2 separate regions of the Homo sapiens genome follow, and region 2 is linked to region 1. Evidence: promoter capture Hi-C in human tissues and cell types (Jung and others, 2019). All regions are on one chromosome and are shown on one strand. Each heading gives the region's core, a stretch centred on a gene start or on the middle of the fragment in contact. The rest is flanking DNA. Distances are from core to core; before and after follow the strand shown.

Region 1 (6,725 bases), core at 2,822-5,321:
TTTAGTCACCTTCCCTTCTCATACACCTCAGTAGACATTCCCAACTTCTGTTTAGACTTCCTGTATAAAAGCTACCACTCCTATCACTTACCCGCAGCAAATGAACTCACCTCCTAATTCATGACAATCATTCTTACAAACTTACCTATATTAACGACTTGTTTTGTTTTGAGATAGGATCTCCCTCTGTTGCCCAGGCTGGAGTGCAGTGGCACAATGACAGCTCACTGCAGGCTCTGACCTCCTGGTCTCAAGCAATCCTCTCACCTCAGCCTCCCGAGTAGCTGGGATGACAGGCATGCACCACCATGCCTGGATAACTTTTTCTACTTTTTGTAGAGAAGGGGTCTATGTTGCCTAGGCTGGTCTCGAACTCCTGTGCTCAAGCGATCCTTCTGCTTCAGCTTCCCAAAGTGTTGGAATTATGAGTGTGAGCCCTGCGCCTTTACATCTTTAATTCTTTTGTTCTGATCTTAGAAGAAGAGTTCTTTCCCCAACTCCAATATAAGGATAATACCTTAATTTATGCACGGTGAAGGAGGAAAGACCAAAAACAGGCAAGACTCATCAACTCATGTTCCTGCTCAGGGACTTTGCTCCGTAACTTATTTCCCACCACACTTGGATACTCAACCTCATTCTCTTGGTTTCTGCCACTCAGCCAACAAATATATTCTAGTGTCTTCCATTCTTTTTTTTTTTTAAAAAAAAGAAAAAACATTTCATATTTTACCCTTTCTATGCTCTCCCTTCCCTGCTTATACAGCAGTCAACATTCCTGCTTCTTTACCTTCCATTCATTCCATAACCCCATCTCCTAATGCTTTACGATTGTGCCTTTATCTGAAGCTATTACAAAAATTAACACAGTCATACTGTAGTACACCAAACAAGCAGAATGGGGAAATTTGATTCCACAAATACTCCAATTTTGTCTATGACTATGCCTACTGATGGAAATTTGGACTGCAAGAGAGATGTAATTATGAGTTTCTCCTTGGCTTTAAAGTGCAGAAAATTGGAAATTGGAAACAGTAAGCCTCCTAAAATTTTCACAAGTTGGGCAGGGGGTGAGTATCTTATATTTATGTGTGCAGTTATATTGCTTTAAAAAGTTTTTCCAGCCTGGGCAATATATCAAGACCTCATCTATACTAAAAATTAAAAAAAAAAAAATTAGCTAGGCATGGGTGGCATACACCTGTAGTTCCAGCTACTCAGGAGGCTGAGATGGAAAGACTGCTTAAGCCCAGGGGTTCAAGGTTGCGGTGAGCTATGATCACAACTGCACTCCAGCCTGGGCAACAGAGCAAGATCCTGTCTCCACAAAAAAAGTTTCTTATATGTATATGCTAATAGTGTTTAAAAGGAAGAAAAGTCAGGTGCGGTGGCATATGCCTGTAGTCTCAGCTACTCAGTAGGCTGAGGCAGGAGGATAGCTTGAGCCCAGGAGTTCAAGACCAGCTTGGGCAAAACAGCGAGACCCCATCTCTATTTTTTTTAAATTTTAATAAAAAGAATAATTTCTTCTTACATCTCCATTAAAGATTAGAATAGAGTCCTGGGACTGACTTTCACTCCACTTCCATAGAAGCTAATAAAAAAATTAGTGTTATAATATCTTTCATTAAAATAATCTACTATCTTAAGATAGATATCTAAGTAAAAGAGCAAGGAACTCAGGAACTAAATATCAGGTTTGAGACCTTAATTAAATTACTTAACTTTCTCACCAATAAAGCAAGGTTATACTGTACTCTACTTCACAGTTTAATTCTGAAGATTAAACAAAATAACACATAAAAGCACAACATAGTTACAGGCACATGTTTAACACTTCCCTCATCTTAGCACAGTGCCATACTCCCAATAAGCATACAACTATTAAGAAGTAAAAGTGTACCAAAAAGGAGCAATATTAAAACTGTGTGAACTATGTGAAACAGAAATTCTAACAAAAGCACCATCTATTCATACTAATAATCTTCAAATGAAAAGCTTCAATTAGAAGTGAAAGTTACTAAAAGATATTCAAGTATTTTGAACGAATTCAACTAGTAAATACACTTGGATTACATTCCCAATGATTTCCTCTGAGAGATTACATATGAGGTACAAGATTACACATGATTTAATAAAATGGACAGAGAGCACACACAAAGCTGCAGTTTCCCAGGCTGAGAAAGACAAATCTAATTTGTCCTTCCTGGGGAGGAATGTATCTTAAATGAACAAAATTTCCTTAGAATACACAAAAGTAAATCAATGTATCAAAGGGATTAGGAAAAAAGGGAGCTTTTTCTCGAAATCCAAAATAATAATACGCATGACCTAAATGAATCTTCTCCAAATATTTAGGGGGGAAACCCCACTTTAATTGTTAGAATTGGTGCAAAGCAGCTGGATTTAGTAGAACGCAGCCCATCAACTGCTAATTCTGAAAAAAAAAAAAAAAAAAAAAAAAAAATCTAGGGGTGGAGAAAGCAGGCAATCTTCCCAATAAAACAACTGCCACAAAACACTGTACATACGTAAGAACATAAACATCTGTTAAAATATCAGTTTACACTGTTCCAGCCAACTTACAGATCAAGAGGAAGTATTTAAGGTCTAAAAAATAAATTACATTCTACTTTTAGTCACATTTTGCATGGGTGGCTACTGGACACTAGGAGTTATCGACGCGGATTCAAGACAAGGAAGACTGAATAATAAATCCAGTGTTCACATTCAAATGTGGGGGAGAGAAAAGGGCAGGCTCTGAGTCCATAAAGTTCTCCACACTCTGAAAACACTGCAAAAATAGTCCACATCTAAGGACACTTACCCTTGAAACTCCTTGGAGAGTGGCTTGGGAGACTTGCTGTTCAGATTTTTGAGGGGGAGTGATTTAAGAATGCTGCAAGATTGCAACTTTCAAACACAGGAACATAATCTAAAGTGTTTTTTTCTTTCAGTAAAGATCTCTCCCTGTCCTCTTCAAACAGTTGATCAGCACTCCCATTTTCACAAAATCCCTAATTCAAGTATAGAGCCCCTCCTCTCCCACAAAAAAATCAAAGCTTTAAAGAATATGCAAATAAAACACACAGATTATTTCCAATAATCCCTAACTCCTTCCCAATTGGGAAAAGAAAGGAGAAACGAAGGAACACGAAGCAAAAACACCAAAACACTCGGGGAAGGAAGGCGGCGAGATGAGAAAGTAGGAATGGGTGGGGGGAGGAGCACGGAAAAAAGTCCAGCTGATGCTGACACTTAATTGGAAGGAGAGGATGGAAAATATCCTGAAGATACGGGCTAGAAGGAAAGGACTAGGTGGGACAGGGGCGCGATAGAGTAAGTCCACGCAAAAGGCCTACCCAAGAGGGCCACTGTGTAGAAGGGAACACCAACAGGGAGCAAGACTCCCCAAGATTACTTCAAGGCCCCAAAGCTTAAGAGACAGGGCATAGGGAGATGGGGTGCTTCTCCACTGGCAATGCAGACACCGCACCAGACGTTTCGGGAGGCAAGTCTGCCGGAAGGGGTGAGGGGTTAACTGCGGGGGTTCGCAGACGTGGAAGGGGGTGCGGCCCCCGGGGTTGCTGGAGGAGAGCAGAGAGGAGGCCCACGGCGCATACCTTGTAGTAAACATCAAACTGGATGTTCTCGGGCAAGGAGCGGATGTCTCGGCGGGAGCGGATGTAGTTGTCCACGACAGCGGAGATGGCGGTGTTATAGAGAGTCTCTGGGATCCACTCTAGTTCCACGGCCGCCATCTTCCTTCCCTCCTCCTCCGCCTCCTCCGCCTCCTCCTCCCGAAGGCCCCCACCTCCCTCCGTAGCGAACCCCTCTGCGGCCCCGGAGGATTCGGAGGGGCGGTGGCAGCCACGCGGGCGCACGGCAGAAGGCACGGCCGCCCTGCCTCCTCCGGGGGCAAACTGAGGGACGGCGGCAGCGGACGCAGGCCCGAGTAAAAAGTGGGACAGAAAACAGCGGCCAGCCAGGCCAAAAGCGTCACAATCCCGGTTCGAGAGGAACCCGGGTTCCGTCCCAGCGCTGATCTCTGCAGGGGCGGGGCTGCGTGTGCGGCGTCATGACGTAAGCGCACGCCGGCGCGCCGGAGGGGAGGAATGCGGCAGGCGGAAAACTTAGGAAGAGCTGGATGCCTCCCACGGAGAGCGTCCCTTCCAAGCGGCCCCGGAGTGGAGTGGAGTGGAGTGGATAGGGGTAGACTTTTCACACGGGGACAAATTATTACAGGATATCTGCGCCCCCTGTTCCGAGTCACTCGGGGCCATCGGTTACTTCAGCAGGTTCTCTGCATCACGGACCCTTTTGAGGCTCAGGTAAAAGTTTGGATCCTCTCCCCACAAACGAGCAAAATTATCTGTACATTGAAAATTATGCATTGAGAAAATTCACATTACTCTAGAAACCCTTAGACTGCAGTTCCTAACCCAAGTTAAGAACCCGCGGTCCAGGAACTAGGGGTAACGATAGAAGAGAGACTTGTTTTTCTTTGTATAACCATTTGCACCGTTGTAACTTTTTGACCATGTTTCTTTATCCAAATGAAATTTCCGAAAAAAGAAAACTCCTGCCCCAGAACTTCGTAGGAAAACTAGCTTGATTATGGAATTACAAATAATAGTAAGAGAAAAAAGGCTAAGTGGTGGCCGTGATAGGACTTAATGGTATTTCAATTCCCAGAGTTACAGTGGCGGCTTCAAGGGATTGTTGAATAATTGGGAGTACTTGTTTCAGCTTCTTTCCTTCCTCAGCCTGAACATCTGCTGTTTATGTAACTTAATTTCCTAAGTCTGCGATTTCAAGAATTTGATGCAACATCTTTCTGTTCTAGGAATTTACCATGGAAATTATTGGCCATAATTGTTGGTGACACTATCAAACTCATAGTCACTCTATAACGATGTAAGTCCAGAAAACAGCCATAATAATAATGTCCTGATTGATATTTAGAGCTAAAAGAAGTGGAAAGAGTTATTTCAATTTACCCTTCACCTGGTACTTCAGTGTTAAGTGGTTAAATAATTCCACAAAAAATAAACACTCTTAATCTTCTTCAGTCTATATAAATTCTTACTCTATACTGTGAACCTAGGAAAGCTGTGGATGGCCTCAAGATCAGATTGCCAGTTTAGCAAGTAAAAAACTACAAGGCTGGGCGCGGTGGCTCACACCTGTAATCTCAGCACTTGGGAGGCCGAGGCGGGTGGATCACGAGGTCAGGAGATCGAGACCATCCTGGCTAACACGGTGAAACCCCGTCTTTACTAAAAATACAAAAAATTAGCCCGTGGTGGCGGGCGCCTGTAGTCCCAGCTACTCGGGAGGCTGAGGCAGGAGAATGGCGTGAACCCGGGAGGCGGAGCTTGCAGTGAGCCAGGATCGCGCCACTGCACTCCAGCCTGGGCAACAGAGCGAGACTCCGTCTCAAAAAAAAGAAAAAAAAAATTACAAGTGCCCAGTCACATCTTAATGTCAGATAAACAACAAATGGTTTTGAAATGTAAGTATGTTCTGTGCAATAGTTTTGCTCATGCCTTCGGAGCCACTCAAGTGTATCAGTTCATTCAGCAAATCCTTCATCACTTCTTAGACACTGGCGCTTTTGAAGATCAGGATCCCTGCCCCACATAAAAGAATAATTATTATCTCTGCAAATATTGCAGGGGACATATTTATACTAAAAACTTATTTGTGACCAGCCTGGGCAACATAGCAAGACCCCATCTCTACAAAAAAAAAATAGCCACATGTGGTGGTGTGCACCTGTAGTCCTAGCTACTCAGGAGGCTGAGGCAGGAGGATTACTTGAGCCCAGAATGTTGAGTGAGCCATGATCATGCCACTGCACTCCAGCCTGGGTGGCAGAATGAGACCCTGTCTCAGAAAACAACAACAACAAAAAACTTTGTTGTTCATCTGAAACTCACATTTAACTGGACACCTGTATTTTATCCAGCAATCCTACCTAAAGGGATCCATGAATCCCCTAACATTGAATGCACATGTTCTTGGACATTTTGGCTAAATCAGGACCCGTATTAAGCTCCTGTAAACAGGTAAAGGTGTGTCAGACACACATATTGATTGCTTTATGGACCTTAGATGCTGAGTGTATTAGTCCGTTTACACACTGCTAATAAAGACATAGCTGAGACTGGGCAATTTATAAAAGAAAGAGGTTTATTGGGTTTACAGTTCCACATGGCTGAGGAGGCCTCACAATCATGGTGGAAGGCAAGGAGGAGCAAGTCACATCTTAATGTGGATGGCAGCAGGCAAAAAGAGACAACCGAAAGGAGTTTCTCCTTATAAAACCATCAGATCTCATGAGACTACCACAAGAACAGCGTGGGAGAAACCACCCCCATGATTCAGTGATCTCCCACTGGGTCCCTCCCACAACACGTGGGAATTATCAGAGTACAATTCAAGATGAGATTTGGGTGGGGACACAGAGCAAAACCATATGACTGAGTTAGACATTAAAAAATGTATATAGTCACAAAGGGGACTCTGGATGGAAGGGCCTCTTGATCCCTTCTTCACTGCTTTCAGATTGAAAGTTATTCAGATGTGTATGATGGACTAGGAGGTCGTGACCAAGAGCAGATAAACTGCCAGAAAGGATAAGTCCCCTGAGAAGGACTTAGTCCTGGCAGTATTCATCACCTTCTAACTGAAGAGCCCTTGGGCCCTAAATGACCAGCAGA
Region 2 (6,725 bases), core at 1,425-3,924, 140 kb after region 1:
TTTTTCTTTTTTGAAATAGGGAACGCTTCATGAATTTGTGTCATCTTTGCACAGGGGCCATGCTAATCTTCTTTGTATCATTCCAATTTTAGTATATGTGCTGCTGTAGTAAGCACTTAATGGCATCTTAAAGCAATTTTTTGATGGTTCTTATGGAAAAATATGACTTTTATGAAAAATAGAGCGATTTCATCAGCATTATGTTATTACCAAAAGTAAATTAAAATGCACACAGAGAATGCGATACTTTTGATCTTCTCCATGTTTGAGTACAGAATAGTGGAAGAGTGAATGTGTGCCTATGGTTAATTTTGAGGGTTTGTTTTGAAATCTTGTTCCTTAATGTATCTTATTTTTGTTTACCTGCCAATGGATAGAAAATGCTTGTGACCACGTGAATTTTCACCCACTTGAATAGATTACTTTATAATTTCATCTATTACCCTGAAGACAGAATTCAATGTCATTCTTACCTTTATATTGTCTTCTCACTCAGGTTCCTCCCATTAAACCTTAACACATAGTTCAGTAAATAGAAGGTGAACGAATTAGTGAATGCATACCCCGTTTTTGCCATCCTACTAGCTTCATAAGAAGCCTAATATCACATGCATAGATTTGTTGAGTTCTGGGATAAATTTTTTCTTATTTGTTTTACCTTCTTATTTTTCAGTCACTGGAGGAGGATCCATGGCCAAGGGTGAATTCTAAGGACCATATACCTGCCCTGGTTCGTAGCAATGCCTTCTCAGAGAATTTTTTAGAGGTTTCAGCTGAGATAGCTCGAGAGAATGTCCAAGGTGTAGTCATACCCTCAAAAGATCCAGAACCACTTGAAGAAAATTGCGCTAAAGCCCTGACTTTAAGGATACATGATTCTTTGAATAATAGCCTTCCAATTGGCCTTGTGCCTACTAATTCAACAAACACTGTCATGGACCAAAAAAATTTGAAGATGTCAACTCCTGGCCAAATGAAAGCCCAAGAAATTGAAAGAACCCCTCCAACAAACTTTAAAAGGACATTAGAAGAGTCCAATTCTGGCCCCCTGATGAAGAAGCATAGACGAAATGGCTTAAGTCGAAGTAGTGGTGCTCAGCCTGCAAGTCTCCCCACAACCTCACAGCGAAAGAACTCTGTTAAACTCACCATGCGACGCAGACTTAGGGGCCAGAAGAAAATTGGAAATCCTTTACTTCATCAACACAGGAAAACTGTTTGTGTTTGCTGAAATGCATCTGGGAAATGAGGTTTTTCCAAACTTAGGATATAAGAGGGCTTTTTAAATTTGGTGCCGATGTTGAACTTTTTTTAAGGGGAGAAAATTAAAAGAAATATACAGTTTGACTTTTTGGAATTCAGCAGTTTTATCCTGGCCTTGTACTTGCTTGTATTGTAAATGTGGATTTTGTAGATGTTAGGGTATAAGTTGCTGTAAAATTTGTGTAAATTTGTATCCACACAAATTCAGTCTCTGAATACACAGTATTCAGAGTCTCTGATACACAGTAATTGTGACAATAGGGCTAAATGTTTAAAGAAATCAAAAGAATCTATTAGATTTTAGAAAAACATTTAAACTTTTTAAAATACTTATTAAAAAATTTGTATAAGCCACTTGTCTTGAAAACTGTGCAACTTTTTAAAGTAAATTATTAAGCAGACTGGAAAAGTGATGTATTTTCATAGTGACCTGTGTTTCACTTAATGTTTCTTAGAGCCAAGTGTCTTTTAAACATTATTTTTTATTTCTGATTTCATAATTCAGAACTAAATTTTTCATAGAAGTGTTGAGCCATGCTACAGTTAGTCTTGTCCCAATTAAAATACTATGCAGTATCTCTTACATCAGTAGCATTTTTCTAAAACCTTAGTCATCAGATATGCTTACTAAATCTTCAGCATAGAAGGAAGTGTGTTTGCCTAAAACAATCTAAAACAATTCCCTTCTTTTTCATCCCAGACCAATGGCATTATTAGGTCTTAAAGTAGTTACTCCCTTCTCGTGTTTGCTTAAAATATGTGAAGTTTTCCTTGCTATTTCAATAACAGATGGTGCTGCTAATTCCCAACATTTCTTAAATTATTTTATATCATACAGTTTTCATTGATTATATGGGTATATATTCATCTAATAAATCAGTGAACTGTTCCTCATGTTGCTGAATTTGTAGTTGTTGGTTTATTTTAATGGTATGTACAAGTTGAGTATCCCTTATCCAAAATGCTTGGGACCAGAAGTGTTTCAGATTTTTTAAAATTTTGGAATATTTGCTTTATACTGAGCTTTTGAGTGTTCCCAATCTGAAATTCAAAATGCTCTAATGAGCATTTCCTTTGAGCATCATGCCTGCTCTGAAAAAGTTTCTGATTCTGGAGCATTTTGGATTTTGGATTTTCAGATTAGGGATGCTTAACCTGGATTAACATTCTGTTGTGCCATGATCATGCTTTACAGTGAGTGTATTTTATTTATTTATTATTTTGTTTGTTTGTTTGAGATGGAGTCTCACTCTGTCATCCAGGCTAGAGTGCAGTGGCGTGATCTCGGCTGACTGCAACCTCTGCCTCCCGGGTTCAAGTGATTCTCCTGCCTCAATCTCTCTCCCCAGAAGCTGGGATTACAGGTGTGTGCCACCACACCCGGCTAATTTTTTTTTTTTTTTTTGAGATGGAGTCTAGCTCTGTCATCCAGGCTGGAGTGCAGTGGTGTGATCTCGGCTCCCTGCAACCTCTGCCTTCTGGGTTCCTGCGATTCTCCTGCCTCAGCCTCCTGAGTAGCTGAGATTACAGGCACGCGCCACTGTGCCCAGCCAATTTTTGTATTTTTAGTAGAGATGGGGTTTCACATGTCAGTCATGCTGGTCTTGATCTCCTGACCTCGTGATCCACCCGCCTCGACCTCCCAAAGTACTGGGATTACAGGCGTGAGCCACCGCATCCGGCCTGAGTTTTATGCTTTCAATGTATTTCTTACATTTCAGTTCAAGTGATTTTCATGTCTCAGCCTCCTGAGTAGCTGGAACTACAGGTGCGTGCCACCATGCCTGGCTAAGTTTTGTATTTTTAGTAGAGATGGGTTTTCATCATGTTGGCCAAGATGGTCTTGATCTCTTGACCTCATGATCCACCAGCCTAGGCCTCCCAAAGTGCTGGGATTACAGGTGTGAGCCACCGTGCCCAGCCAACTATGCCATTATTTAACCATGTCCACACATTCTGGTTATTTTCAATATTTTGCAGAAGATAATTCTTGATCGGTGTGTCTTATGCCACAAGGATTAAAATATGTATTCATTGCTACAAAACAATATCTCGAAATTTAGCAGTTTAAAACAACAAATATTATCTCCAGTTTCTGAGCCTCAGAAATCTGAGAGTGGTTTAGCTGGGTGATAGTCTCGTGGTTTTGGTCAAGCTACCAACCAGGGCTACAATCTTTCGAAGGTGTCATTGGGGCTAGAAGATCTGCTTCCCGCAAGACTCACAGCTGTTGGCAGGAGACCTCAGTTTGTTGCCACATGTTCCCCTCCAGAGGGCCTCTCACAACATGGCAGTTATTTGTCCCCAGAGCAAGCAACACCGGAGGGCAAGGAAGAAGCCATGATGTTTTTTGTAACCTAGCCTCTGAAAGTGTCATACCAATTCTGTATTTTGTTGGTCACACAGACCAAGTCAACTACAACGTGGGAGACTCCTACACAAGGCATGAATTCTAGGAGGTGGGCATTTTTAAGTGTCATCTGGAAGGAGGCTGTCACAACCTGGAAGTTAAAAGCATTGATATTCTGAAATACAGCGTGTATAACATTGTTTTAGTAGGGTGTGCAATAGTTATGTTTTGGTAATAGCATTAATGAACAATGTTATTTTCATCTTCCAGACATCTGGAAGATTGCTCTAGTGGAGTAAAACATCTTAATGTATTTTGTCCCTAAATAAACTATCTCACTAACAAAGTTGAGAATAATTTTTTTTTTTTTTAACAGGGTCTCACTGTCCCCAGGCTGATGTGGAGTGCAGTGGCAAAATCATAGGTCACTGTAACCTTTAACTCCTGGGTTCAAGTGATCCTCCCATCTCAGCTTCCTGAGTAGCTGGGACTACAGGTGCATATCACCACACCTGGTGGATTTTAAAAATTTCCTTAGAGACAAGGTCTCACTGTGTTGCTCAGGCTGGTCTTAAATTCCTGGCCTCAAGTGATCCTCCTGCCTCGGCCTCCCAAAGTGCTAGGCAAATTTTAATCTTAGAGACAAAATATTTAGGCAGTATTAGTGGTTGCATTAGGGATTACAATGTACATACACTTATAGACTACTTAGAATCAATGTTCTATGACTAAAAGTGGAATGTAGGAACGTTACTAGCCAGGTGTGGTGGCATGTGCCTGTAGTCCCAGCTACTCTGGAGTCTGAGGTAGGAGGATCACTTGGGCCCAGGGGGTTGAGGCTTCAGTGAGCCGTGATCACACCACTGCACACCAGCCTGGGCAACAGAGTGAGACACTGCCTCAAAAATAAATAATAAAAGTAACAAAAGTTTTAGCAAAAGGAAAAAAAGTTAAAAGAAAGCAAGCTGGGTATGGTGGTGCATTCCTGTAGTCCTAGCTACTCAGGAAGCTGCGGTGGGAGGATTGCTTGAGCCCAAGAGTTCCAGGCTATAGTGTGCGATGATCACACCTGTGAATAGCTATTGGACTCCAGCCTGGACAGCATAGTTAGGCCCTGTCTCTTACACAAAACACAAAATAACAAAATGAAAACAGGTCGGGTGCGGTGGCTCATGCCTGTAATCCCAGCTCTTTGGGAGGCTGAGGTGGGGGGATCACCTGAGGTCAGGAGTTTGAGACCAGCCTGGCCAACATGGTGAAACCCCATCTCTACTAAACATACAAAAATTAGCTGGGCGCGGTGGCACACACCTGTAATCCCAGCTACTTGGGAGGCTAAGGCAGGAGAATTGCTTGAACCTGGGAGGCAGAGGTTGCAGTGAGCTGAGAATGTACCACTGCACTCCAGCCTAGGTGACAAAGTGAGACTTCGTTGCAAAAACAAAAACAAAAAAACAAAAACAAATGGAAACAGAGAAGAATGTGGTGCTAAAAAAAAAATCTAGGCTGGGCACGGAATATGCCTGTATTCCCAGCACTTTGAGAGGCTAAGGTGGGTGGATCACTTAAGGTTAGGAGTTTGAGACCATTCTGGCCAACATGGTGAAACCCTGTCTCTACTAAAAATACAAAAATTAGCCAGGCATGGTGGTGGATGCCTGTAGTCCAGCTACTCAGGAGGCCGAGGCAGAAGAGTCACTTGAACTCGGGAGGCGGAGGTTGAATTGAGCCGAGATCGGGCCACTGCACTCCAGCCTTCGCAACAGAGTAAGACCCTGACTCTAATAATAATAATAATAATATAATAATAATAATAATAATAATAATAATAATTAAAGATGGCTTTAAAACATCCTAAGTCTAATGAGTCATAAACCTACAAATTCAAGCTCAGCAAATCCCCAAACAGAAAACATTAAGAAATCCTGACATAACCAAATTGCTAAAAACTAAAGAGAAAAACAATCTTGAAAGCCACCAGAGGGAAAATATAATGCATACTGACATACACAGGACTAATTTAAATGACTGCATATTTCTCTTCAGAAACCATGATAGGGCCGGGCATGGTAGCTCCACCTGTAATCCCAGCACTTTGGGAGGCCGAGGTGGGTGGATCACTTGAAGTCAGGAGTTTGAGACCAGCCTGGCCAACACGGTCAAACCCCATCTCTACTAAAAGTAAAAAAATTAGCCAGGCATGATGGCGTATGCCTGTAATCCCAGCTACTTGGGAGGTTGAGGCAGGAGAATTGCATGAACCCAGGAGGTGGAGGTTGTAGTGAGCCAAGACAAAGCAAGACTCCGTCTCAAAAAAAAAGGAAGAAAAAAAACAAACATGAAGACCAGAGGAAGCGGCATTTTCATTTTTTTGAGACAGAGTCTTGCTCTGTCACGCCCAAGCTGCAGTGCAGTGGCTCAATCTCGGCTCACTGCAACCTCCACTTCCTGGGTTCAAGTGATTCTCCTGCCTCAGCCTCCTGAGTAGCTGGGACTACAGGTGCGCACCACCATGCCCGGCTAATTTTTGTATTTTTAGTAGAAACGGGGTTTCACCATGTTGGCCAGGCTGGTCTCAAACTCCTGACCTCAGGTGACACACCCACCTTGGCCTCCCAAAATGCTGGATTACAGGCATGCGCCACCATGCCTGACCACCTTGTGTATTTTTTAAAACAGTTGATAAAACTAAGGTTTGAGGGCTGGCCGTGGTAGCTCATGCCTGTAATCCCGGCACTTTGGAAGACCGAGGCAGGTGGATCACCTGAGCTCAGGAGTGTGAGACCAGCTCTGCCAACATGCTGAAAACACATCTCTACTAAAAATACAAAAATTAGCTGTGCATGGTGGCGCGTATGTGATGGTGCGCACCTGTAATCCCAGCTACTCTGGAGGCTGAGGCAGGAGAATCACTTGAACCCAGGAGGCAGAGGTTGCAGTGAGCCGAGATTGAGCCACTGCACTTCAGCCTGGGTGACCAAGGGAGACTCTGTTTCAAAACAAAACGAAACAACAACAAAAACAAGATTTGGTCGTTGTCGGCAGTTTCACTTTCCTGTATCTTTATAACTGTCTATGGTTGTTTTTTTTGGGTTTTTTTTTGGAGAGACAG

The links. Contacts are between HindIII fragments. The study calls those that stand out against the background at their distance.
Region 2: a contact is called between a fragment that was not itself captured here and the fragment with the promoter of APPBP2 in region 1, in 1 of the 25 tissues and cell types used here (hippocampus).

What each region holds. Positions count from the first base shown.
Region 1 is chr17:60,522,171-60,528,895 of GRCh38, forward strand. It overlaps APPBP2 (amyloid beta precursor protein binding protein 2), which reads right to left and starts at 4,072. Exons shown (of 13, transcript NM_006380.5): 1 at 3,624-4,072. The coding sequence starts at 3,761. It also overlaps the pseudogene LOC107984970. RefSeq lists enhancers at 2,983-3,691, 3,412-3,681 and a silencer at 3,762-3,901. The HindIII fragment of the contact is 9,879 bases long and covers 3,250-6,725 here.
Region 2 is chr17:60,662,322-60,669,046 of GRCh38, forward strand. PPM1D (protein phosphatase, Mg2+/Mn2+ dependent 1D) reads left to right here. Exons shown (of 6, transcript NM_003620.4): 6 at 674-3,959. The coding sequence ends at 1,231. It also overlaps the pseudogene RNU6-623P. Among named protein-coding and RNA genes, the nearest start is that of BCAS3, 12 kb to the right of the region's middle. The HindIII fragment of the contact is 6,894 bases long and covers 1-6,121 here.